Linked DNA regions of Homo sapiens: all the other regions are linked to region 5. Evidence: promoter capture Hi-C in 16 types of primary human blood cells and fetal thymus (Javierre and others, 2016). All regions are on one chromosome and are shown on one strand. The core of a region is centred on a gene start or on the middle of the fragment in contact, and the rest is flanking DNA. Distances in the headings are between cores, read along the strand shown.

Region 1 (3,167 bases), core at 467-2,966, 400 kb after region 5:
AGGGGACAATTGGCAATGTCCAAAGAAGACATTTTTGATTGTCACAAGTGGAGGGGAGGAGATGCTACCAGTGCCTCGTGGGTGGAGGCCAGCGATGCTGCTACACATCTTGCAGTGCATAGGATGGTCCCCACATCAAAGAATGATCCCACCAAAAATGTCAGCAGTGTCAAGGCATAGAAACGCTGATCAAGACAATGACCCTTTCCAGTCTTATTTAATAAATAAAAAGAACTCAACCAGTTTTCTTTGGTGATGGAGGATGGTTCTTACAGCAGTGTCCTTCCTTTAAATTGTATGAGCTGTAGTGTAGAAATAGAAATGAAACAGTTATCTTTTTGTCTAGTTTTTGGACAAAAAATTGGTCCAGAACACACCATGAAGGATGATTCTGGGAAATCAGATATTGCAGATGAAAGAGAACTTGGCTGGGGACAAGCTCTGGGTTCTAGCTCTGGTTCTAATGCCAACTTGCTGGGTGTCTGGGACTGTCACTCTCATCTAGGGGTGGAACTAAAGCACCTTCAGACCTCTGCTGCCTCTAACAGTTTCTTCTAGAACAAGTCCATGCATGAGTCAGTTGAGAGAGTTGCTAAAGCTTAACAGAATATAAAGGAATAAGGAAGAAGAAACCACTCCACCTCTGCCCTTCCACTTTCGTCGGCAGGGTACGTCCACCCATAGCATGGGCTCCCTGTGTGACCCACTTCCCTGCTTCCGCATGGGCTTGAGGGAGGAGGAGGCCTGGCATGCCGGAAGGCTGGCCAGGGGTGAGGTCCGTGCTTGGGGACTGGTGATGTGAGAATGGGCTAAGCAGTGAAGAACTCTGTGGCATCTGTTTTTAAAATGGAGTCCAGGGGTGAGCAGTGGCTTATGAATGTTCTCAAGAAAGAAATGATGACTAGCCTTGGACATTTTGATGTTGCTCTTTGAAAAGATCCATATTCTCTTTTGGGATGAATTATAGTTCACTTGTGATATTTCTTTTAAATATATTTTTTAATCTTTAAAATTATTTTTATTTTTATTATTTTTTAGAGATGATTCCTTGCTCTGTTGCCCAGATGGGAGTGCAGTGGGCACCATTATAGCTCACTGCAGTCTCGAACTCCTGGGCTCAAGTGTTCCTCCCACCACAATTTCCCAAATAGCTCGGACTACGAGTGTGACTTACAATATTTCTTATTACACAGGAAGCTGAATTTTTTTCTTTAACTTGCAAGAAGTCTGTGGCATTTTTTAAATTTATTTTTGTCTTCACAAACAAGTAGAGTAAGTGATTTAAAAAGGTATACACGTGAAATCTTTTTCATAGGTTATCCATATTACATGGTAAGCAAGTTAAACATATAAAAGGCTGTACAGAGAAAAAAGGAGTCCTCCTCCCAGCTCGGGGGTAGTTGATCTTTGTTTTCTTATCACTATGGTCTTGGAGGGCAGAAGTTGGAGAGTTGAAGCCATAGTGAAGCATCACCAAACTAAGAAGGCTCAGGTCTTGGGACAGCTCCATGCACAGGCTGAATGGGACGGCTGCCAGGAAGATAATATTCTGTTCTGGATGTACATTTCCAGGGCCAGTAAGTGACTGCACACACCTGAGGCAGTTGACCTTCTGCTCTGTCGATGAAAGAAGAGGGGACAAAAATCAAGGGACAGGAACAAGGCAAGAAATTGAGGCTTTTGGAGTTATAGGCTGGAATTGTGCTGAATTTTCTTCTGAAATAGTTCACTAAGGTGTATTAGCCAACCACTTATGTCTTTCCTTCTATGTCATTTTCTTTTTTTTTTTTTTTTTTTTTTTTTTGTTATGGAGTTTTGCTCTTGTCCAGACTGGAGTGCAGTGGCGCAATCTTGGCTCACTGTGACCTCCGCCTCCTGAGTTCAAGTGATTCTCCTGCCTCAGCTCCTGAGTAGCTGGGATTACAGGCGTGCACCACCACGCCCGGCTAACTTTTGTATTTTTTGGGAGAGACGGGGTTTCACCGCGTTGGCCAGGCTGGTCTCGAACTCCTGACGTTAGGTGATCTGCCCACCTTAGCCTCCCAAAGTGCTGGGATTATAAGCATGAGCCACCATACCCAACCTATGTCATCATTTTCAGTGGAAGTAGTTGTCTAATACGAGGAAGTAACACGTGTTCAAAAGAATAGAGTAGGGTTGCTTGATCTTCTGTGTTTTCTTAGAGCTCTATTTTCTTTGTGTTCAGAGCAAGTTCTGATTTGGACAAAAAGCATGGCCTCTTAGGGCTGTCAGTGCTGCCACTTACTTGGTTGTGGGCTTAATGTGCTGGCTTTGAGTCTGTCTCACTGACTCCCATGCTTCGTGGGTCCCTGGAATTCTGTGCTTATGGGGATCCCCAACATGACCTGCACATAGGACAGCAGGAAAGGAGGACATATATACTGCGTACATCTCCTCTGCTCACATGCATCTCCACTGTCCCCATAGGATTTCACTCGTAAAACACAAGTTCACAGATAAGACTAAGGATGTTAAGACGGTGATGGTAGAGCACTAAGCCAAGTGTGGGTCCTTCTAAGCACAAGGCCTTGTGCAGCATGACAGGTTGGTCACCATGAAGTGGTCTCTGCCGATGTGGTTATGAAACCAGGAGGGCTGAGGGATCTTGAAACATGGGATGAGCTGCCTAAGGCCAAAACCAATGTTCTGAGGATGGTAGAGCCCAGAGCTTGAAGGAATTTATGTTCCTGACAACAACACTGAACCACTGGTTTTAATCTCCTTGGAACTTGCTTGGACTTCTTATCTGAGATTAGAATATCCTTGTTTTTAAAGGTGGTTTGAGCTGAGTGTCACTTGCAGGTGAAAGCTTTGTGACGTACACCAGAGGACATCTTGTCCCTAATGAGTGAATGCCATAATACTTTACCTTTATTTTCCTTACTAGGCTCCATCTCCGTAGCCTGCTTTTGACAAAAGTGGATACATAAATCTAGGGGCCACCTAGCTAGTTCTAATAAGACTTTGGAAGTCAAAAGCTAAAGAAGACCAGGGGACCAAGCTGGAAATCAGGCTCTGCAATCAGATTCCAGAGGGAATGCCATTCCACCCAATCACCTAGCCACAACGGTTCCCTTCCTTCAAGATGCTGCATGCCTCTTCAGGCGAATGGATTACCTTGTAAGAGTGACCTGAAAAAGCGTTAG
Region 2 (3,293 bases), core at 195-2,694, 430 kb after region 5:
AGGGGCTAAACTCCGGGCGGAGGCTGGGGGGCCTCAAAAGCATTTTCATGCAGGTGAGAAAAGGAAAATTTCCAGGGCATCTTGGCTGAAGCACAGAAGTGACTCCCGGAAGACCTGGCATGTGTGAGATGTAGGAGGGATGCTCTGTGCCTGCTTGTGTGTGTGCATGAGTGCGTGTGTGTGTATGTGTGTATGCGTGTACATGTGGTGGGTATGATGAGCCTCGGGGCTCCCTTTAGCATCTGCTGGTGAGTTTACTGTGCCTGCCGACCGTTTCCCAGGTCAGGCCTCCGCCCATGATAACTACTGTTTACCAAACACTTACTGTAGGTCAGTGACTCACATATGTGATCTCATTTCACTCTCCCAACAACCCTGACGTAAGGACTATTATCCCTATTTAACACATGAGGAAAGGGAGGTTTGAGAGCTCTGGTTACTTTTTCACATTCTGAAGCTAGGTGCCTCCACAGCACATGAAATGTTCTGCCGTCGTTCGTCTCCCTGGGACCATATGGAAACGGGGGCTGCTTCCCCTGGAGATCACAAAGGGCTTCTGCAGTAGAGAAAGGAGACTAAGAGCACCTTTCTAGACTTTTCCTTAGCATTCTTCAAGATGTACTATCAGAAGTTCAATAAAAACAACCTAATGCTGAGATTCATGGATAGAAAATTGACTCAACTTCCTGCCTTCCGACGAGCTTATTTTCTTCTTAGCCATTGTAAATTGGTGGAGCCGTGTTCCTCCTTGTCTTAGAAACTTTTAATGGTGCTGTTGCCCTCAGGTTAAGGTCTGGACTCCTTGTGGCTCTCCAAATCCCTCAGAGTCCTTCATTGTCTGAGCAGGCACACTCATCTTCTGTAGTTTAAAAGGTGGCAGTGGCTGGGCGCAGTGGCTCACGCCTGTAATCCCAGCACTTTGGGAGGCCGAGGCAGGCAGATCACCTGAAGTTGGGAGTTTGAGACCAGCCTGACCAACATGGAGAAACCCCGTCTCTACTAAAAATACAAAATTAGCCAGGCGTGGTGGCACATGCCTGTAACCCCAGCTACCCGGGAGGCTGAGGCAGGAGAATCGCTTGAACCTGGGAGGCAGAAGTTGGGGTGAGCTGATATCGCTCCATTGCACTCCAGTCTGGGCAACAAGAGCAAAACTCACTCTCAAAAAAAAAAAAAAGAGTGACAGTAATGACATGATCATTAAACATCTTTCAGGGAAGACTCTATGAGACCGATGTTTGCATGCTAAAGACAGGTGTTGCTGCCGGAAAGTGATTCGGTTTGAGGACTCAGGACTTGGGAACATCAGTCTCATCTCAACAGAACCCTTTTTTCAGTTCCCTGCTGTTTCCTGCACAAACTGGGGGAATGTGCTTGGCCTCCCTGGAGCTCGGATTGTCTAGCAGCTTGGATTGCTTAGTCCCCCTTTCCACACCTTCCTGCCACCCTGAGGGGGAGGCCTGATGGTTCATGGGCTTCCGCAGAAGGAATTTGCCCACTCTGCTTCCTAAAATGTGCAGCTGCATTTTGCTGCTGGGAAAATATTGATTGAAGGTCTGGAGGAGTCTGACAACTTGTAAGGCACATACAGTTTTTATCTGCAGGATGAAGTTAGTTTTTGTTTGGGCCTGGTGTTTTCGAAAGAAGGAAATCACTTTCATAAGCATCAGATTAGATCCAGGAAGCGTCCGCAGGACAATGAGAAGCTGATAGAGGCAGTGTCTCAGGATTTTGCCATTGGTTACTACCGCCACCTCCTGGCTGAAATTGTGAACTACACAGCATGGGCTTCCTGGGCAAACTGGTTTAAGAAAAGGTAGCCCCGTTTTCCCCATTTTCTGCAAGTTCTGTGTGGCGCAAAAAGGAAATGAGAAGACTTATTGTTTAGATAGAGTATTTATTGGCATATTTTATATTAACTGTGATGATAAAGCAGACACAAGAATAAGAAATAAAATCAGAGTGAATTTTTCTCATCTGAGGCAACAGGGAAAATAATTCATTGGAACAACCCTGTGACTCAGTGTTAGCTTTGCCCAAAATAAGTGTCAAGGCCCTTATCTGAGTTTCCAAGACCCCCTGCCCATTCTCTTAAGCTGACCTCTTAGCATATTGAGGGAAATCTACCAAACATTTTGGAAAATTAGTACAAAATTAAGGAATTAAAATGAAAATTGCAATATAAAAAATTATTGGGTCTGAGGCATGTCTTCAGGTTGTACAAGGAAAAGATGTAAGATTTGGTATCTCTCCTCTTCATTATTTTATATTGGTTTTATACATAAGCCCTCACCCTGTAGAAATATAAGTTCTAAGTTAGGAAAAGGATTATTTGTAACATACATGCAATACACATACATTGACAGAAATAGAAACAGGCTTTTTCTGTTATTTAAATAGTATTTTTGGAGTAGATTGGTTTTTCGTTTGTTTGTTTTTGAGACAGAGTCTTGCCCTGTCGCCAGGCTGGAGTGCAGTGGCGCGATCTCTGCTCCTTGCAATATTTTCCTCCCGGGTTCAAGTGATTCTCCTGCCTCTGCCTCCCGAATAGCTGGGACTACAAGCGTGTGCCACCATACCCAGCTAATTTTTGTATTTTTACTAGAGACAGGGTTTCACCATGTTGGTCAGGATGGTCTCTATCTCCTGACCTCATGATCCGCCTGCCTCGGCCTCCCAAAGTGCTGGGATTACAGGAGTGAGCCACTGTGCCTGGCGGATTGTATTTTTAAAAATTTATTTAGAGATGGGGTCTTGCTCTGTCAAGCAGGTTGGATGGAGTGCAGTGGCGCGATCATAACTCACTGCAGCCTTGACTTCCTAAGTCAAGCAACCCTCCTCCCTCAGCCTTTCCAGAGGACAGCAGCTGGGGCCTTCAGACAATTACGTTTCCTTAGTCGGACATCTGAGAGGCATAATTTCATGGCTACCACAGAAACTGAGAGCAAATATTACATTTCTCATCCCCCCTTGAAGCTTGGGTCTTGCTGAATATTGTTTTCATAAAGCAATCTGCCATATTGAAAAAGCCATGTAATGAGAAACTGTGTGCAACCTCCAGCCAACAGCTAGGAAAGAACTGAGGCCCTCAGTCTTCTCAGGTGGCCTACTGGCCAATATGTACAAGTTGTATATACAACTTCCAGAAGGGTCCTTAAAAGAAGAGGGCTATCACTTTCTTGCCTTCTTTTCTTTCTTGCTGGCTGGAATGTGATGATATCACTAGATCTGAAACAGCCATTTTGGACTAAAAGGCAGAAGCCACAGGTGAGGATGATGGAGTTACAAAATAA
Region 3 (3,277 bases), core at 336-2,835, 320 kb after region 5:
GTCTGAGGGAGAGAGCGTATACTTGATAAAGAGTTCAGATGGCATAAATTGTGGGATGCAAGAACAATTCTCATACCTAGGGTCACGCCACTACATTTTAGTAATTCTGGTATGAAAATTAGAAATGGGTGAGGTATATAGGGTTTGAGGAAGGAGGGGCTGGGAAGAGAGAGTTAATGGATAACATTCAAGTACACACCTGTAATCCCAGCACTTTAGGAGCCCCAGACAGGAGGATCCCTTGAGGCCAAGAGTTTGAGATCAGCCTGGACAACATAGTGAGACCCTGCCTCTACAGAAAATTAAAAACAAATTAGTGGGGTGTAGTAGTGTGCACATGTAGTCCCAGCTACTCAGGAAGCTGAAGCAGGAGGATTGCTTGAGCCGGGGAGGGTGAGGCTTCAGTGAGTGGTGATCACACCACTTCACTCCAGCCTGGGCAGCAGGGCGAGACCCTGTCTCAAAAAAAAAAAAAAAAAAAAAGGAGAAAAGATCATTGCCCAAAATGAAACTTCCTGAATAATCAATGGATTTCAATCATTTCTATCTATTTTTCAATGGTCTGATGACCTTGTGTTGAAGGACATGCAGGGTTTATTTCAAAAGGAGATTCCTGGGCCCTTGCCTCGATTTCCTGAATTAAAGTACTAGTGCTGAGGCCCAGAACCTGCCTGTTAAACAAGCTCCCTAGGTCATGCGTGTGCCCACCAATATGTGAGAACTTGTCTCCATTATCCTGAGAGGGCTGACTGTATTCTTTCACATGATTTCTTCTGGAAGCACTGAAGAGGGGTTCTTGTACCCGTCTGTTAGGAAGAAAATCAACCATTTCAAAGCACGCTGCAAATCTGAAGCCTTCCAGGCACCACTGGTGAGATAAAGGATAGAATCCAGGTGGTATCTCCTCTCCATATAACTAGGCCAAAGGTAGCAACTAGGAAGGTTTTTGCTCCCGCCCAGGAAGACTCACTTGCTGGGTCCCACTTCTGCAGTGCTTGCTGGCATCATGGCAGGGAAGAGACCTGCCCCTCTCTTTCCAGCCTCCCGAGGAAGCCTCTCCACAAACCCTCTTTCAGAATCATAAGAGCAAAGTGACTCACATCCGTAGGACTCACAGGGTGACATCAGGTTTATGGGCAGGGAAGGAAGGTAAGCTCCATTGCCTCCTATCATTGTGTGTGGCCTTCAGGCTGCAAATGTGCATGCCTGACTGCCTGAGCCCTTTCTTGGGATCAAAGTCATCTGGTTCCACCCACAGACATCATAGTTGCCCTTGCAAGAATGTCCTGAGCTGGGCATGGAGGTGCATGCATATAGTCCCAGCTACTCAGGGGGCTGAGGCAGGAGGATTGCTTGAGCCCAAGAATTCAAGTCCAGCCTGGGTAACATAGCGAGACCTCATCTCTAAAAATAATAATAATAAATAAATAAACAAAAAATAAGAATGCCCTCAGTTTAGGGTTGAGTTTTGACAAAAAGGCATCCACATCTCTCAGGCAATACAAGAGCAACGAAACTGACTTTGATGTCTCTGTTGATGGTGTACACATTGCATCATTAAAGATTGTTTGGGCTGCAACCAGCTGAAGATCCCATGACCCTTGACTTAGAGCACTAGGAATGGCCCAGGGTGAATTCTGTGGCTCTGTGATAACCCCAAGGGTGGAGGCTCTTTCTGTCTTACTACTCTACCATTTTTGGCGTGTCAGCAACATCCTGCTTTCTAGTCAAAGATGACCACCATGTTTCCTCGCACACCGTGGAAACCCAAGCAGGAGACGAGGGAGACTTGGCAAAGGGCTTCCTCCCCCTGAACCTCTCTCATCAGGGAGAGGGACCTTCCCTAGAGGCAGGCCTTGATCACATGATGACTCCACGGTCTATGACTGCAAAAGGGCACTCACTGCCATACACGAGGGTTCTGTTATTAATGAAAGGGGACTGGCCACTGGTAGGCCATAAAAATGTGTCCCGCATGGGGAATAGGTATTAATGAGTAAAGAATTCAAAGGACTTCATTTCCTCCCACCAGAGCATTGCACCCAGTGGAGAAGCATGTGTGGCCAGGGAGCTGCATGAAGGTGAAATCAGAACCTGTCCTTGGAGCACTCCTGGAAGTATGAGCAGGGGTGCAGTCAGGACGGCCTGACTCTCTGACCCTGTGACTGAGCCACAGGGGTCTCTTCTATGCTTCACTGTGCTTCTTCAATCTTGCCATCACTGTGTTGAAAAAGCATCCCTGGGCATTTGTGGTGAAGCCATTGGCAGAGCATCAACAGTCTTTCCAATGTACCAGTCCCACAGGGACCAGCCCCGGCTCCTTTACTTGGTTCATCATCCCACAAAAAAGGCTCCAGAGTGATGAGTGGAGGGAATGTGTATACAAGCTGGGAGATGCTTCAGGGATGGGGCATGACTCTGAGAAGCTCCACATGCAAAACAGGGTTATGATGGTCTAGGAGCCAGCTGCAGGGAGGTGGGCAGCCAGGAGGTGGGCTGGGGCTATCAGGGGAGTGACTGACTGCAAGGGCAGGCTCAAGGTGAAACTTTGAGAGGCAGATCCCAAGGCCCTTGGATCTGGCCTGTTACAGCAAATGGAGGAGTAAGGCAGAAAAGTCCTCTAGGGCTGTCTTCTACTCTCTCCTCCAACAGATTTTCACTGAGCATTTGCCATGAGCCAGACTCTGTTAGCTGTTGAGGTTTCAAGGGAAGGTAGAAAAGACAGAAGCAAACCAATGATAAAGATATCTATTGTCTTTTAGTGACTTTCATACACGCTCCCTCTCTTTTTTATTCTGTGCATCTCATTATCTAAGGGCTCGTTTTGTACCAAATGCTTTTATACATCATCTCATTCAAATCTCTCTGAGGTTGGAAATGCTATTTTTGTTTTACAGCTGTAAAAACTAAGGCCAGAGAGGGAAAGTGAGTGACCCAGGGCCCCACAGCTAGACAGATTCAAATCCATGGGGTCTATCTTAGTGACAAAGCTGGCACATTTCTTCCCCTCCTTGTGCCTGCTGAGGTTTTTTTGTTTTGTTTTGTTTTGTTTTTTGTTTGTTTGTTTTGGCTTTTAACATTTTACAATATTTTGCTATTTTTTCCTAATCAGGCAATATACATAAATATTTTAACAATCAACTAGTTTAAGATTTATGAAAAACAGCGTTTTCTTGCCCACCTTCTCCCAATTCTTCCTGCTCCCCAGAGGCAGCCACTTCCAAATGTTAGCCAGTTCAATTCTACATGTAATAGGAGAACGGCAATTTTTATTGAT
Region 4 (3,194 bases), core at 196-2,695, 340 kb after region 5:
CCCTCTGGCAGCCCTAAAGAGAAGGGGCTGGGGCCTCCAGAGGGAAGAAGGTATAGGGCAACAGTACTTGAGAGAGGTGAGGACCCCAGCAATCTGATAAGAGGCCTGGACCCAGTGCCAAGAAATTGGCAATGATTTCTAGGAACTAGAGGTCTGATATTCTATTTCGAGTTTCTCCCTGTACTCATGCATTGGCCATCATGCATAATGCCACATCATCTTGGGGAATCTGGTGGGAAGAGAGGTGCTTTGTTTGCACCAGGTTATTATGAAGAGAGGGCAGAGGCCTAAGGCTCTCCAGCACCAAGCTGGAGTCAGGTGTTGTAGCAAGAGGCAACGCAAAAAACTGCCTGGACCAGACCCTCCCTGGATGGTTAATATTGGGACTGCTGGTCTCTGTGCCGTCCTGTGAGATTATAGCGTGCATATATTTAATTGACTATTAAAGGAAGAGGAGCGCCATATGGCTGTAAAACCTGGGGAGATTTAGGTTACAAAAGAAGCATGCTCATTTAGAAATCTTACACATTCAGAGGTATTATCCATCTCTAGCAATAGCAGAGTGAAATAAACATATTTAAGTAATGGCAACAGCAACAAGGAAGACTTTTAAGCACACTTTCAAATTTTGCATTGAGAAACGTGGTGAGACCTTTCAACTTTCTGTTTCAAAATCCAAATGTATTCTGATGAAAGCTCTTTATTCATGAAAATTTTTGTGCATGTGACTAGGATTTTACTCTACACATCTCAGACAAAACTCCTTTCATTCCACCTGCCATTGGGCAATGCTCTCCAAGGGGAGGAGGAAGCTCCTTCCAGAGTCCTGCCAGACATCAGCACAGGCCCTGGGGCAAGAACTGGTCACCTCTGCCTGTGCTGGGTGGAGAGCAGAGGAGTTGGATGAGGAGGGACATCAAATTTAAGGAACAAAATCAATTGACCCTGTTTTGGTGCTAACTTTTCCTTGGCTGGTATTCTATGTCCAGAGAAGCAAATGGGGTGGTCCTGTACCTTTCCCAAATGGTCTCTCCTCCTCCTCCTCCTCTTTCTCTTCCTCCTCCTTCTTCTTCTTCCTTTTCCTCCTCCTCCTCTTCCTCTTCTTCCTCCTCCTCTTCCTCCCTCCCTTCCTCCTTCTCCTTCTTCTTCCTCCTCCTCTTCCTCCCTCCCTTCCTCCTTCTCCTTCTTCTTCCTCCTCCTCTTCCTCCCTCCCTTCCTCCTTCTCCTTCTTCTTCCTCCTCCTCTTCCTCCTCCTCCCCTTCTTCTCCTTCTCCTTCTTCTTCTTCTTTTTTGAGATGGAGACTCACTCTGTCACCCAGGCTGGAGTGCAATGACACGATGTCAGCTCACTGCAAACTCCGTCACCTGGGTTCAAGCGATTCTCCTGCCTCAGCCTCCTGAGTAGCTGGGATCACAGGCATGTGCCACCATGCCCAGCTAATTTTTGTATTTTTAGTAGAGACGGGGTTTCACCATGTTGGCTAGGCTGGTCTGAAACCCCTGACCTCAGGTGACCCCCCAACCTCAGCCTCCCAAAGTGCTAGGATTACAGGCGTGAGCCACCGCGCCCTGCCCAAATGGTCTTTTCTTATCTGAGTTCCATTCTTTAAAAGTAAACTTAAAAAAAAAAAAAGCCTCTTATCATGAAGACGTATGTGGGCAGGTAGAAAGGATTTTACAGGATACTTTTTGTAATGCTTCCATACAATATAAAATTTAACATCTTAACCATTTTCCAGCATATAGTTCAGCAGCGTTAAGTACATTCATGCTGTTGTGCAACGAGCACCACCATCCGTCTCCAGAGCTTTTTCATCTTCCCAAACTGAAGCTCTGTACCCATCAAACAATAACTCTCAGTTGCCCCTTCCCTCAACCCCTGGCAACACCCATCCTACCTTCTGTTTCTGAATTTGGCTCCTCTAGGAACCTTATATGAGTGGAATCATACAGTATTTGTCGTTTTGTGACAAATACTTATTGGCTTATTGCACTGAGTGTAATTTCTTCAAGGTTCATCCATGTTCTAGTATGTGTTAGAATTCTCTTCCTGTTTAAGGCTGAGTAATATTCCATCGTGTGGATAGATCACATTTTGCTCATCCATTCACCTGTTGAGAAAAACTTGGTTTGCTTCCACTTTGGACTATTGTGAATAATGCAGCTATGAACAAGTGTGGACAAATCCCTGGAACAGTTTTTGTAATTTGCTTTTACTTCCCCAGGGCAACTTAGGACTTGACAGATTTTGAATATGAACTTACTTTCCTTCCTTGAGACTAGATAGATTTAAGATTAAGTGTTTTTAAAGGGGGCCTTTTCTTTGACTAAGTATCATAGAAAGTAATTTGGTGTCTGGTGCATGGTGCATTGCTTCTCTGAATGAATAATTCAGACATTTCAAAACACTAGTGGATTTGAAAATCAAATTCACACAGAGAGGGTGAGTTGTGAGAAAAGGATAGCATAGGCACCATGATTCAGGTTTGGGGTTCTACAGACTGACACCAAGAAATCAAATGAGAATAAATTACAATTCAGCTGTGAGTGTGCAACACACACACACACACACACATGGAAGCAGCTAGTTTAAAAGTCAGGAAAGCCCACAATTCTAGCTGCATTTTGTAGACTACCTTGAGGTTTGAGCTTTTACCTTATGGTAAGACAGGTGGAAGGAGTTGGGAATAAGGATCTGGAGAGTTGAACCTACTTGTGCTCTCCCACCTTGTTGCCTGATAGTGTACCTTAGATAGTTAATGGCAAGGCTTCCAATGGGCCAGATGAGGTTGCAGAGAATTTTCCATTTCACACTACAGACTGTCCTGTTGACCCAGCCAACAGTATCACAGATTAATGTCACTGGCCAATTGAGAGGACACTCAGCAGGCATGAGTGCTTAGGGCCTCTGGAGCCCAAGAGCCAAGAGCAGGACCCTCACCTCCTGGATGCCATGGCAGCTATCCTTTCCAGTGGCCTCTCGCAGGCTACATGGCCTCTCATTTTTGCTTTTCCTTACACATCTGCTCTTGTTTTTTCTCTCAACTGACTTCCTTTGTTTACTCACTTTGAATATAGCTCAATAATGCCACCAAGCTTGATTTTCCAATGCTACCTTTATTGACTATCGAGTTCATTGCATCTGCCAGTGGTGTCTGCATACCTCGGTTTGAAACTTTGAGCATCTCATTGAC
Region 5 (3,258 bases), core at 554-3,053:
AAGCCGTGTAGAATTTCGTAATGGAATGTGAACTGCTCGTCCGGATCTGGGCTCACGTTCTATCTCCTAACCAGTAAGGAGCGAGGGAGGGCAAATCTGCTGAGCAAGGAGAAATACTTTCCTCCTCTTTTATAACCCATCACGGATGCACGGCGGCCGAGGGGCGCGAGCTGCACGCGGCGCCTGTCAAGCGGCCCGGGCCCGCACCCCGTGGGGTCCCCGCGTCCCCCAGCTCCCCGCCCCGCCCGGAGAGAAAGGTGGCCTCGCCCATCGGTGGGCTCGGCCGACGCGCCCCGCACTCACGCGCGGCCGCGGAGCAGGTCACATCCTCGACGCGCCCTTGGCCCGGTCCAGAAAACACGCCGCTTCCCAGGGAGGGGGTCGGCGACGGGAAGGACCTCCCCTGCTCCTTAGCAACCATTAAGGTCGCAGTTTCCTAAGAGACCGCGAGCGGGGAGGGGGCGCGGGGGGCCCGGCCCAAGGCTTGTGCGGGAAGTTGGGGGCGGGGGGGGCAGCAACAGGCCCCCTCCCCCCACCCAGCTAGACGCCGGGGGCCGGGATGGGAGGAGGAAGGGAAGCCCCAGAACTCGTGAAAAACTGGTCCAGCGGGCGGCGGACAAAAGTTTCCGAGCGCGCTCCACAGCTGGGCGGCGGAGCGGGCCCCGGCGGCCGGCCCCGCCTCGGATGCTCCCGGCCTCCTTCCTGTGCTCGTGACGGCGCCGAGCCCCCCACCCCCCCCGCCCGCGAGGCAGGCTAGCTCCACACCGAGGGCTCCCACGAAAACACTCACCCCGCCAACGGAAGGGCGAGGGAACAATACGTGCCCGCACGGCTAGGGCCCGGTCCCCTCCTCCCCAGGCCCCCCGGGGCGGTGGTCGGCGTGACCACGACCGCCAGCCGGGAACCCGCGAGGGCGCGGGGCTGCCCGCGGCCCCCTCCCGGCCGGCGCCGTCCGCCCGGGAGGTTCAAAGTCCGCAGAGCAGGGCGCGGCGGATGCTCCCACCGAGCAGCCCCGAGCAGGCACCCCCGCGCGAGCACCCCGGGCAGGCACCCCCGGATACCTTAGGGCGGCGGCGGGAGGGCGGGCGCCGTCATCTCCGCGCTTCCCGGCCCGAGAAGGACTCGAAAGTATGTAGGAGAAAAGTTTCCCCTCCCACATGGGGGGGAGGATGTCGAGGGAGAGAGGGCGGAAGATGGAGAGCAGCGCTGGGAAGATGTTTCTGGCCGGCGGTGCGCGCACCATCCGAGTCCCGGCGGTGCTGGTTAAAAATAAACTCGGCGGCGCGGGTCGGGCCGGATTCCTGCGCTCGGACGGCTAATATGGATGCGCATCAGGTCCTGCTGGCGGGGCGCTGCGGCGGCTCGCGCTGGGAGCTGGTTGGCAGAGCCGGCGGCTCGGGAAAGGGAAAAGAGCGGAGGAAGGGGAGGAGGAGGAGGAGGAGGAGGAATGGCCCGGCGCGCAGCCCGAGGGGAGAGGGCTGCCCCGCTCATCCCTGGCCGCCCCGCCGGCCCGAGCGCACGCTGCGCGGAGTGGGGCGTGCGGGTCCCCGGCTCCGGGACACACCGAGTTTCAAAAGTACAACGCGCTCTGCAGACTTCACCCTCCCCATCCCCAAAGTTCTTTAAAAGGTCGCTCCGGCTGTGCCCCAGACTTCTCGCTGCCGCCGGCGTACCGCGAGTCGGAATCCGGGGCACGTACTTACGGCCGGGCAGGACGCTTGGCTCCCTGGCATGATGCGTTGGGGACCGGTGGGCTTCAGGGAGAGACCGAGGAGAGATGCAAACTTGTTCCGGAAAAGGAATCAAAATGGCGTTTCTGGATGTGCAAAGTTCATCAACTCCGCAGTCACTTCCCCTCCTCCTCTTCTCCCACAGGGAGGGAGGTGGGCGAGGAGCTGGCGACCCCGGCGCCCCAGCCGTCGTCCCGGCCCCCGTCTCGGCCCCCCGCCCAGCTTCCTCGCCCGCACGCTCGGAGTCTCGCTCTCCCCCTCTCACCCTGATAAGTAGACACATCACGTGTTGCTCCTGCGAGTCTCCTGGGGACGTGTTACTGAGCGGCCGCGGCGGCGGCGGCGGCGGCGGCGGCGGCGCTCGGACTGGGGGGGGTGAGGGGGAGGACCGCCGCCCCCGCCCCGACTTTAGCAGGGTGACCGCAGTTGCCATCCCGGGATGGATGGAGGTGGAGTCCCCTCCCCACCCCCCACCGCAGCCCCAGGTTTGCCCTACGCCCTCCCAAGGCGCCCCGGGCCATGGGAGGGCCGGGCTGCCCGAGGGGAAGGGTCCGGGAGGCCGCGACTGGCTGCGATCCCAATCGTCCCGTTGCTCGCGGGCCACCTTATTCGGCCACCGCGCCCCCTCCCCTGCAGCCCCTCGCCGCGGGCGACTCCCCGCCCCCGGCTTTCCATCACTTCACTCCGCAGTTTCACTATTTTAACGGAGGCGGGGGAGACACGGTGATGCCTCGGAATTGCGAGAGGGGCACCTCAGAGGCGCTGGAGTTGGGGGGATGGGGGGCGTAGGGCTCGGGGCCCTGGCCTGACGCCGCCCCTCTGGGTCTCCGAGGCATCTGCGAGGGGGAGCCCCGCCCGCGCCGTTTCCTTTCCACGCGGTCCTCGCTCTGCATCCAGGTGGGGCGAGTGGATGATGGGGCAGGAGATTAAGGAGCAGGCGCTTCACCCCGCCCCTAGCTTCGAGCCGTTTCTCTCCCGGGGCCATCCTTCTTACTCGGGCTGCCGCCCTGAGTGTGCTCGCCGTCTAACAAACTCAACTCCGACCCGACTTTGGTCCCCCTCCCTTACCCACACCCCACAAAGGATGCTTCAGCGGGGAACTGCCGTGGCCGCCAGGGGCTGAGGACGGTTCCTGCCGCCACTGTGTCCCCACCCCGCGATGGAATGGCTGATGCTGTGTCATCCACGTCGCCCTCCAAGGCTTCAGAGAAGCCACACGCAGTATCTCTTTCTCTCAGAGGGCTCCTGTTTCAACTCTGAAAAGCAGGGGCCCTTCTCCGAGCCGCTCTCCATCTCTCCAGCTCCTGCCACCACGCTTCGCACTGGCTGCCTTGCCCCAAGTTATCACGGAGCCCAGAGAAACCAGGCCTGGGCTGTGCTTCCTCCATAAAGCAGCTGACATGTTTCCAACTGTTAATACTTCTCCTACCGAGGTTCTGAAAGGGGTCTGTTCTCAGCCTTTGGAAACATCTTCAGAAAGATAAGGATGATTGTGGTTGTTGAAAATAAACACGCCCCCCCCCCCCCG
Region 6 (3,066 bases), core at 309-2,808, 500 kb after region 5:
CAGATGAGTGTAATAACAGTGATCACTTCTATAGCTCTTTCCACAGCAGGTCCTGTTCTGAGCCCTACGTATGTATTAGCTGAAATCCTCACAAAAGCCTTAAGAGAGATGCTATCATCCGTGTTTTAGAATTGGGAAAACTGAGGCAGAGAGGGTTTATGGAAAGTGTGCAGGTTGAAAACCTTGTACTGGGCTGGAGTAGGAGCCTATGTTATGTAGGCTCTTTTCTACCAACTCAGGCACAGAGAATAATATATACAAAAAAACTCAAGTCCCAAAGACTGTGTATTCTGGGAACTTCACGTTTGTCAACAAAAGCTCTTCATAAAATCAAGTCAGTTGTGCTTTTGTGACCTTCATTTTGAATCATATAAATGCAAACAGTCCAGCTTGTTTCTTTGAAAGGCTGGAGGTCGGAGGTGGCTGGTGTTTGCTCAGACACGGCCAGATCTTAACGGTCCTAGAATCACCCCTGGAAGGACAGTGGAAAAACAAGATAATTTTCTTTTCCTCTATTGCTTAAAGTGGTATCAGAAAGGTAGACTTCTGTCTTCTTCCTATATATTTTCAAAGAAGGAGCCTTCCTTGGCAAAATACAAATTTCTGTGGCTGCTGGGGTCAGAAAGAGTTTCCACCGTCATCACAGGCCTTCATCTTGCAGGTAAGCTCAGACATGCTCACCTTCTTACTGACTTTGCTGAACATCGCTCATGTTGTGGAATAGAATTTCTACACCATTTGTGCTCATAGTGTGACATCAAAACCAGTATGTCCTTTGCAGCCCTTAAATACACACATGAGAATGCACACACACACCCCACAAAACAAAACCCCAGCCCTCCCTCGCTTTGGCCTTCTAGCTTGACCATTTTAGGGCAGACTGTCTTGGTATGTTCCTAGGGACAGAAGCTTCCATGTAACTCAGGCAGTAAATCAGGGCATCAGCTAGCACTCACCTTGCCCCCCCCTAAGCTTCCGTTTCTTCACTTGTAAAAGGAGGAACTGAGCACTATTTTAAGCTTCATGCTTCCTTCCTGTACCAGGCTTCTCAGATGCCCCAGAGGCCAGGGCAGTGGAGCCCAGACTCTGGGGGCTCAGGGCCTGCACTGTGGGTCATAAAGGCAGAGGGAGATGCGTAGCCTCAGGCTCAAGAGCTTCAGGCCATTTTTTTAAAATAAAATCTTTTTATCTTGAAATAATGATAGACATAGGAAGCTACACAAAGAGTACAGAGGTGCCCTGTGTACTTTCACCCACTTCCCTTCATGGTAACATCTTACAGAACCACGTATCAAAACCTAGTCATTGACACTGGTGTACTCTACAGACTGTACTCAGGTTTTAGCGGTTTTCACACGCACGCACGTGTTCGCTCTTGTAGTTCTATGCAGGGTTACTGCGTATAAGCACCACCATACAGATCCTGGCTGGGCGTGGTGGCTCATGTGTGTAATTCCAACACTTTGGGAGGCCTGGGCAGGAGGATCGCTGGAGCCCAGGAGTTCACGACCAGCCTGAGCAACATAGACCCTGTTTCTACAAAAATAGAGGCCAGCACCCTTCCTTGCCAGTGCAAACGTTTCTTGCAATGTTCAGGGCCCTGTAGCCAATCTTGGCCATACACAGAGGCCTACAGAACAAGCACGAATTCTTTTTTTTTTTTTAAATTTTAATGGACACACAATAATTATCCATGTTTATGGGTTTGCTTCCTAAATGCTTTCTAGTATGAGAGCAACTTAGCTTATTTTTCTCCCTGGCCTTCCTACATGTGCTAATGAATTGTCCGTGGCTGCCTCCAATCCCCCAGCAGACCAACAGGAGGAAAAAAATCAATTTGCACTTTTCCTAGGAAGCAATCCTGTTGGCAGAGCTGACTCATAAACAGCCTCCTTTTCTGTGTTAGCATGTTGCTGAGAGGCCAGCGTGACAGTGCTTCTGAATGTGGCCACCTGGATTTAAGGTGGAGTAGTGCCTCAACTGAGAGGCCCTTGAAGGAAGAGAAAGTGTGTAAGGAAGTGCATAGAGAATAAGAGATCCAGTATCTCCAGGGTGTGGAATCCCAGGCTTCCTTCCTAAAGATACCGTGAAGCTTTCCCAAGAAAGCAGAGTGGATACCCAGTGGGAGTTCCCACCCGTATGTCTTGAACTGGAACCAGGGAAGTCAAATTCTTCATTCCCAAAGCCAATTCGCCATTTCTTTCTGCATCTCTTATGTCAATGAGATGAAGCCAGGGTGGGTCTGCTGGATGCTCCAACTCTGCAATAGAGCTCTCCTGGACAGGAAGGAGGGAGGTGTTTCTATGGGAAATCTGAACTTGCTTGTACTTTCTCTTCATTTCACATAGACCATCCGGGAATAGGATCCCGGGGCCATGAACAATAAAAGATTACAAGCTCTTACAGGTGGATGCTGGAGGGGAAAAGCAGAGCTGCGGTTGGCTTGGTCTCTCTGCCAGCAAAATACATTCCTAACCAAGGAAAGGACTCATTTCTCTGCCTCCAGAATCAACACACCCTAGCATTCCCTTCCTGATTAGGGGAATAAAAAATACTTTTGCTAAAGATATAAAAAGAATTATATTGAAAGATAGCAAGCTGCCATGAAAAATAAGACAGGAAATTGGATTTCGGATGAATAAAGGAGAAGAGTTCACCCGTTGAACAATCACAGCCGTCCTTCCCCCGCAGACCTGCACACAAGTTAAACACCACGTGTGAGTTTCTTCTGCTTCACAGCAAAGTTTAAAGAAGGCCTGGCTCAACGCTATGCCCTTCTCTGTAACACCATTGCTGTAACCGTTTGGATATTGTTCAGCCTTTTTTTGCCATCTGTTCATGTGTCTTCAGAACATTTAAAAACTGTTAGTGTGCATGGAAACATTACTGGACAAAACTGATACAACTAGAGCAATTAGTCTAAATACTTTTGCCCAGGCTTAAGCTGCTGAAAACTGGAGAAAGAAAAAAAGGACTGGGCCGGTAAACATTTTCTGACACAGGAGACATAAATAACGGATATTCACAACAGTTTGTAATTGCAAAAAAGTGGAAACAACCTAAATT
Region 7 (3,191 bases), core at 321-2,820, 450 kb after region 5:
ACTGGCTGAGTTCCACCTGTGTCTTTGGAAGGCTGTGACAGCTGTCTTGTACTGTTAGAACATGTGCGTACACAGAGTCTAGCCAGGGACTTTACTACTTGTGGTGATGGTTACTGAAAAGGGAGAGAGGTGAATGTCTCAAGCTAGAGGGAATGGCCAGGGGCAGGAATCATTTGCTATTCTTGTGCGTAACACCGTCACCCCCATGTACGTTCAGAGGTTTGCTCCTGAGCCTAGTATGACCACGCACGTCTTTTCCCTCGAGCATTATGGGCCTAGGCAAGGACGCTGCTGCAATTTTGCCTGCTCATAACCCAGAAAACCTCAGATGCTGGTTTTAAAGTTTGACAGGCATTTTTGACCTGCTATTCTAGGTGGTTTACTGATGTATAAACAGTGATTAATAGCAACTACTGTTTTTTAAACTATGGAATTTTTTTCTCTTTTAATCTCTAATATAGTGGCATTTTTATGAATGATAGTGTCAACTCACCCACCTTACTCCAGCCCCTTAGCAGGAGCAAGAGGGCCAGCAGGGACACTGGAAGGACAGGGGCGTCGGATGGTGAAGGGGCTATGCAGCCCACCATGCGATCAGTGCATCCCAGGAGAGAAGACGGGGCCGCAGAAATGGCTCTGGAAGTAGCATGGGCAACATGCTCATTTACGGAGAGCATCGTAGAAGACAACTTAAGAACACAGCACCTGATACACATTAAGTGTTCAGGAGTTATTCCTTGCATTCATTAATGAATGCAGTAATGAACGCCAGCATATGCTGAGGTCAAGTGTAATCATGCTTTGAGGGATGAAGGTGAAATGAATGTTTGGATAAGCGAGAGTATGATGTCCCTATTCGTGAGGTTGCATCAGCTTCTCGGCCCTCATGGTCCAAGGGTGGGGGCCTGCCCAGGAGAAGCAATGGCACATTTTCCCAGTGTTCTAATTTTAGCCAGGCTGTCACCCTCCTGAATTTCTTGGAACTGCTTATGCTGCACCAGCATCCGGCACTGTATCTGGAGGAAATGACTTTTTAACTACAGCATTGTAGTAAGATTCTTTGAACAAACCACAATGAACAATGGTGGCCAGCTTTCTTTATTCTTGGTAACTGTGAGGAAGCACTCCTAAAAAGTTGAAAAGCAGGTGAGTCTGGTGGGAGGCGACCAATTAGAGAAAAAGGATGGACCCTCAAGACTGCTTAAGGACTGCCAAGAGGCTCCTTAGAAACAGATACATTCGGGGACTTCATTACATCTGTGGAGTCTGGGGATGTCTGGTCCTGGGACTAAAATTAGCAGCTGCACTCTTTGGGGGCGCTTCTTTGTAGAGCCTCTCTCTGTCATCAGCTGCTTCTCCTCCCACAGTAGGTTCAGTCAGAGGAGCTTGGAGGTCCCACGAGATGCAGCTGGCTGTGATTTTTGCTACAGGCCACAGTCAGGAGCACATGATAGTAGCATTGGCACAGGCCACGGTGGACCGTTTTTCAGTGTACAGTTCCAGCAAAACCTGGTATTCTCCCTGCAAGGGGCACAGGTCAAGTATTAGACGTGTGACCCACAGTACAATTAACCATTTAACAAATATTTACAGAGAAACTTTTATGTGCTGGGTGCTGTTCTGGACATTGTGGATAACGTAGAACAAGACAAGCCAACCCCTGCCCTGTGGAGCTGACAGCATCTCTGGGAGAGACAGACCACCCTTATGATATGTGACTATGTATGGTGTGTCAGGTGCTCATGTCATGGAGAAAACTCATGCAGGAAGGGAGTGGATGGAAGCACTGGATGGGTCAAGGCAAGTGCTGGTCTGCAATTTTGAGCAGGGTGGTGAAAGGAGGCCCTGCTGAGACGACGACATTTAGGCAAAGACCTGAAGCAGATGCAAGAAGGTGCAGTGCTGCTATGGGCTGGGGCCCCCACCTTAGAGGGGCAGAAGGAGGCCAGTGGGGCTGCAGGGAGTGGGGGGATGGGGGGGGTGAGGTAAGGGCAACACAGGAGGCCAGACTCTTAGGGCCTCAAAGGCCATGGTGGGGACATCAGCTTCCACTCTGAAAGGGACTCTGGTCAGGAGAGGGTGGCCTGCCCTGGCGCCTGTGTCGGTAAGATCCCTCTGGCTGCCTCACTGAAAAGCCCAGATGGGAGGCGATTGCAGGAATCCAGGTGAGAGATGAAGATGACTTGGAGTAGAGGTGGAGGTGGGGGAAGGCTTTGGGTGCCAGAGAGATTTTGAAAGAACAGCCAATAGGATCCGCTGAGGAAACGCAAGTGGGTGGGAGAGAAAGAAATGGGTTAAAGGTGACTCCAAGGCTCCTGGCCTGAGCAACTGGAAGGAGAAAGGTTTGTATGCTCAGACAGAGAAGACCCCGGGGAGCACAGTTCACCAGCACAAAACCAAAATGCACCATCACAGAAAGAATGGCTGCCTTTGGGGATCCTTGCTGGCAGCAACACTGTAAGGAGGTCTCCCTTCCTTTGCAGTCAGCTTGGCAGAAGCCACCTGGCAGCCAGGTCCTATGAGGACTGTAGAAGAGCCATTCTGGTTTTGTTTGCTGCCAGCACCCCAGTCCTGCACCCCAGCAGCCACGGAGCGGTGATGTGTTTGTAGACACGAATCTGGAGAGGAAAATGCTCTGGGGTGGTTGGAGGGTCGCAAGCGGAGCAGAGGGACTGTGGCAGAGGAGGCCAGGAGACTGCTGGCACATCTTTGAACTGCCTGTCACCCAAAGGAGGAAAGAGTTTAATCTGTATAAAGCAAGAGGGAAGGAGTAGGTGAGACCACCGGAGAGAAGCTGCATGAAAGGTGGCTTTTGTTAGAAGGGAGCAACTTTCTAGCAATGAGCAGAGCTTCCAAAGAGAGTGGAGTCCCCAACACTGAAATTGTATTCAAGAGAACCAGGCTGTGCTCTGGATGGTGCCTTGGGTGTGATTCCATGATTCTAGACGCTCCCATGAGTCACACTCCTCAAATATTGAGCAGCTGTAATTTTAGAAATAGTGTTAGGAATATAACCAAAGCAGTCCAAATGTTAGAGAATTAATTATGAGTAAAGACCGGCTCAAATTTATATCTCGTTGTGTTTCATCGTTCTCTTCCTCCTCATGTACTTTTCTTTAAAATCTCTATGTGCATTTAGACACACACCTACAAATGTATTGAACAACACAAGAATTTTTCATTACTACATT

The links. The method cuts DNA at HindIII sites, captures the fragments that hold promoters and counts their contacts. A CHiCAGO score of 5 or more calls a contact.
Region 1: a contact is called between a fragment that was not itself captured here and the fragment with the promoter of RREB1 in region 5, in 3 of 17 cell types (fetal thymus, erythroblasts and monocytes). The highest score is 5.5, in fetal thymus.
Region 2: a fragment that was not itself captured here is called in contact with the fragment with the promoter of RREB1 in region 5 in 5 of 17 cell types (monocytes, erythroblasts, M2 macrophages and 2 more); the score reaches 6.9 in monocytes.
Region 3: a fragment that was not itself captured here is called in contact with the fragment with the promoter of RREB1 in region 5 in 3 of 17 cell types (M2 macrophages, M0 macrophages and erythroblasts); the score reaches 9.6 in M2 macrophages.
Region 4: a fragment that was not itself captured here is called in contact with the fragment with the promoter of RREB1 in region 5 in 1 of 17 cell types (monocytes); the score reaches 5.4 in monocytes.
Region 6: a fragment that was not itself captured here is called in contact with the fragment with the promoter of RREB1 in region 5 in 1 of 17 cell types (naive CD4 T cells); the score reaches 6.3 in naive CD4 T cells.
Region 7: a fragment that was not itself captured here is called in contact with the fragment with the promoter of RREB1 in region 5 in 1 of 17 cell types (activated CD4 T cells); the score reaches 5.6 in activated CD4 T cells.

The regions. Positions count from the first base shown.
Region 1 is chr6:6,704,820-6,707,986 of GRCh38, reverse strand. All of the region lies in intron 4 of LOC101928004 (a long non-coding RNA gene), which reads left to right. Among named protein-coding and RNA genes, the nearest start is that of LY86-AS1, 84 kb to the right of the region's middle. The HindIII fragment of the contact is 2,232 bases long and covers 601-2,832 here.
Region 2 is chr6:6,675,464-6,678,756 of GRCh38, reverse strand. No RefSeq gene overlaps it. Among named protein-coding and RNA genes, the nearest start is that of LY86-AS1, 54 kb to the right of the region's middle. The HindIII fragment of the contact is 3,069 bases long and covers 1-2,978 here.
Region 3 is chr6:6,788,946-6,792,222 of GRCh38, reverse strand. All of the region lies in intron 2 of LOC101928004 (a long non-coding RNA gene), which reads left to right. Among named protein-coding and RNA genes, the nearest start is that of LINC03055, 95 kb to the left of the region's middle. The HindIII fragment of the contact is 7,184 bases long and covers 1-3,277 here.
Region 4 is chr6:6,769,327-6,772,520 of GRCh38, reverse strand. All of the region lies in intron 2 of LOC101928004 (a long non-coding RNA gene), which reads left to right. Among named protein-coding and RNA genes, the nearest start is that of LINC03055, 110 kb to the left of the region's middle. The HindIII fragment of the contact is 3,307 bases long and covers 1-3,098 here.
Region 5 is chr6:7,106,506-7,109,763 of GRCh38, reverse strand. It overlaps RREB1 (ras responsive element binding protein 1), which reads right to left and starts at 1,803. Exons shown (of 13, transcript NM_001003699.4): 1 at 1,704-1,803. RefSeq lists silencers at 435-524, 545-1,034, 1,825-2,044, 2,105-2,584 and an enhancer at 2,935-2,994. The HindIII fragment of the contact is 7,744 bases long and covers 1-3,258 here.
Region 6 is chr6:6,608,446-6,611,511 of GRCh38, reverse strand. All of the region lies in intron 1 of LY86 (lymphocyte antigen 86), which reads right to left. All of the region lies in intron 1 of LY86-AS1 (LY86 antisense RNA 1), which reads left to right. Among named protein-coding and RNA genes, the nearest start is that of LY86-AS1, 13 kb to the left of the region's middle. The HindIII fragment of the contact is 1,073 bases long and covers 1,022-2,094 here.
Region 7 is chr6:6,652,874-6,656,064 of GRCh38, reverse strand. It overlaps LY86 (lymphocyte antigen 86), which reads right to left. Exons shown (of 5, transcript NM_004271.4): 5 at 1,083-1,521. The coding sequence ends at 1,438. Among named protein-coding and RNA genes, the nearest start is that of LY86-AS1, 32 kb to the right of the region's middle. RefSeq lists a silencer at 2,018-2,208. The HindIII fragment of the contact is 4,773 bases long and covers 1-3,191 here.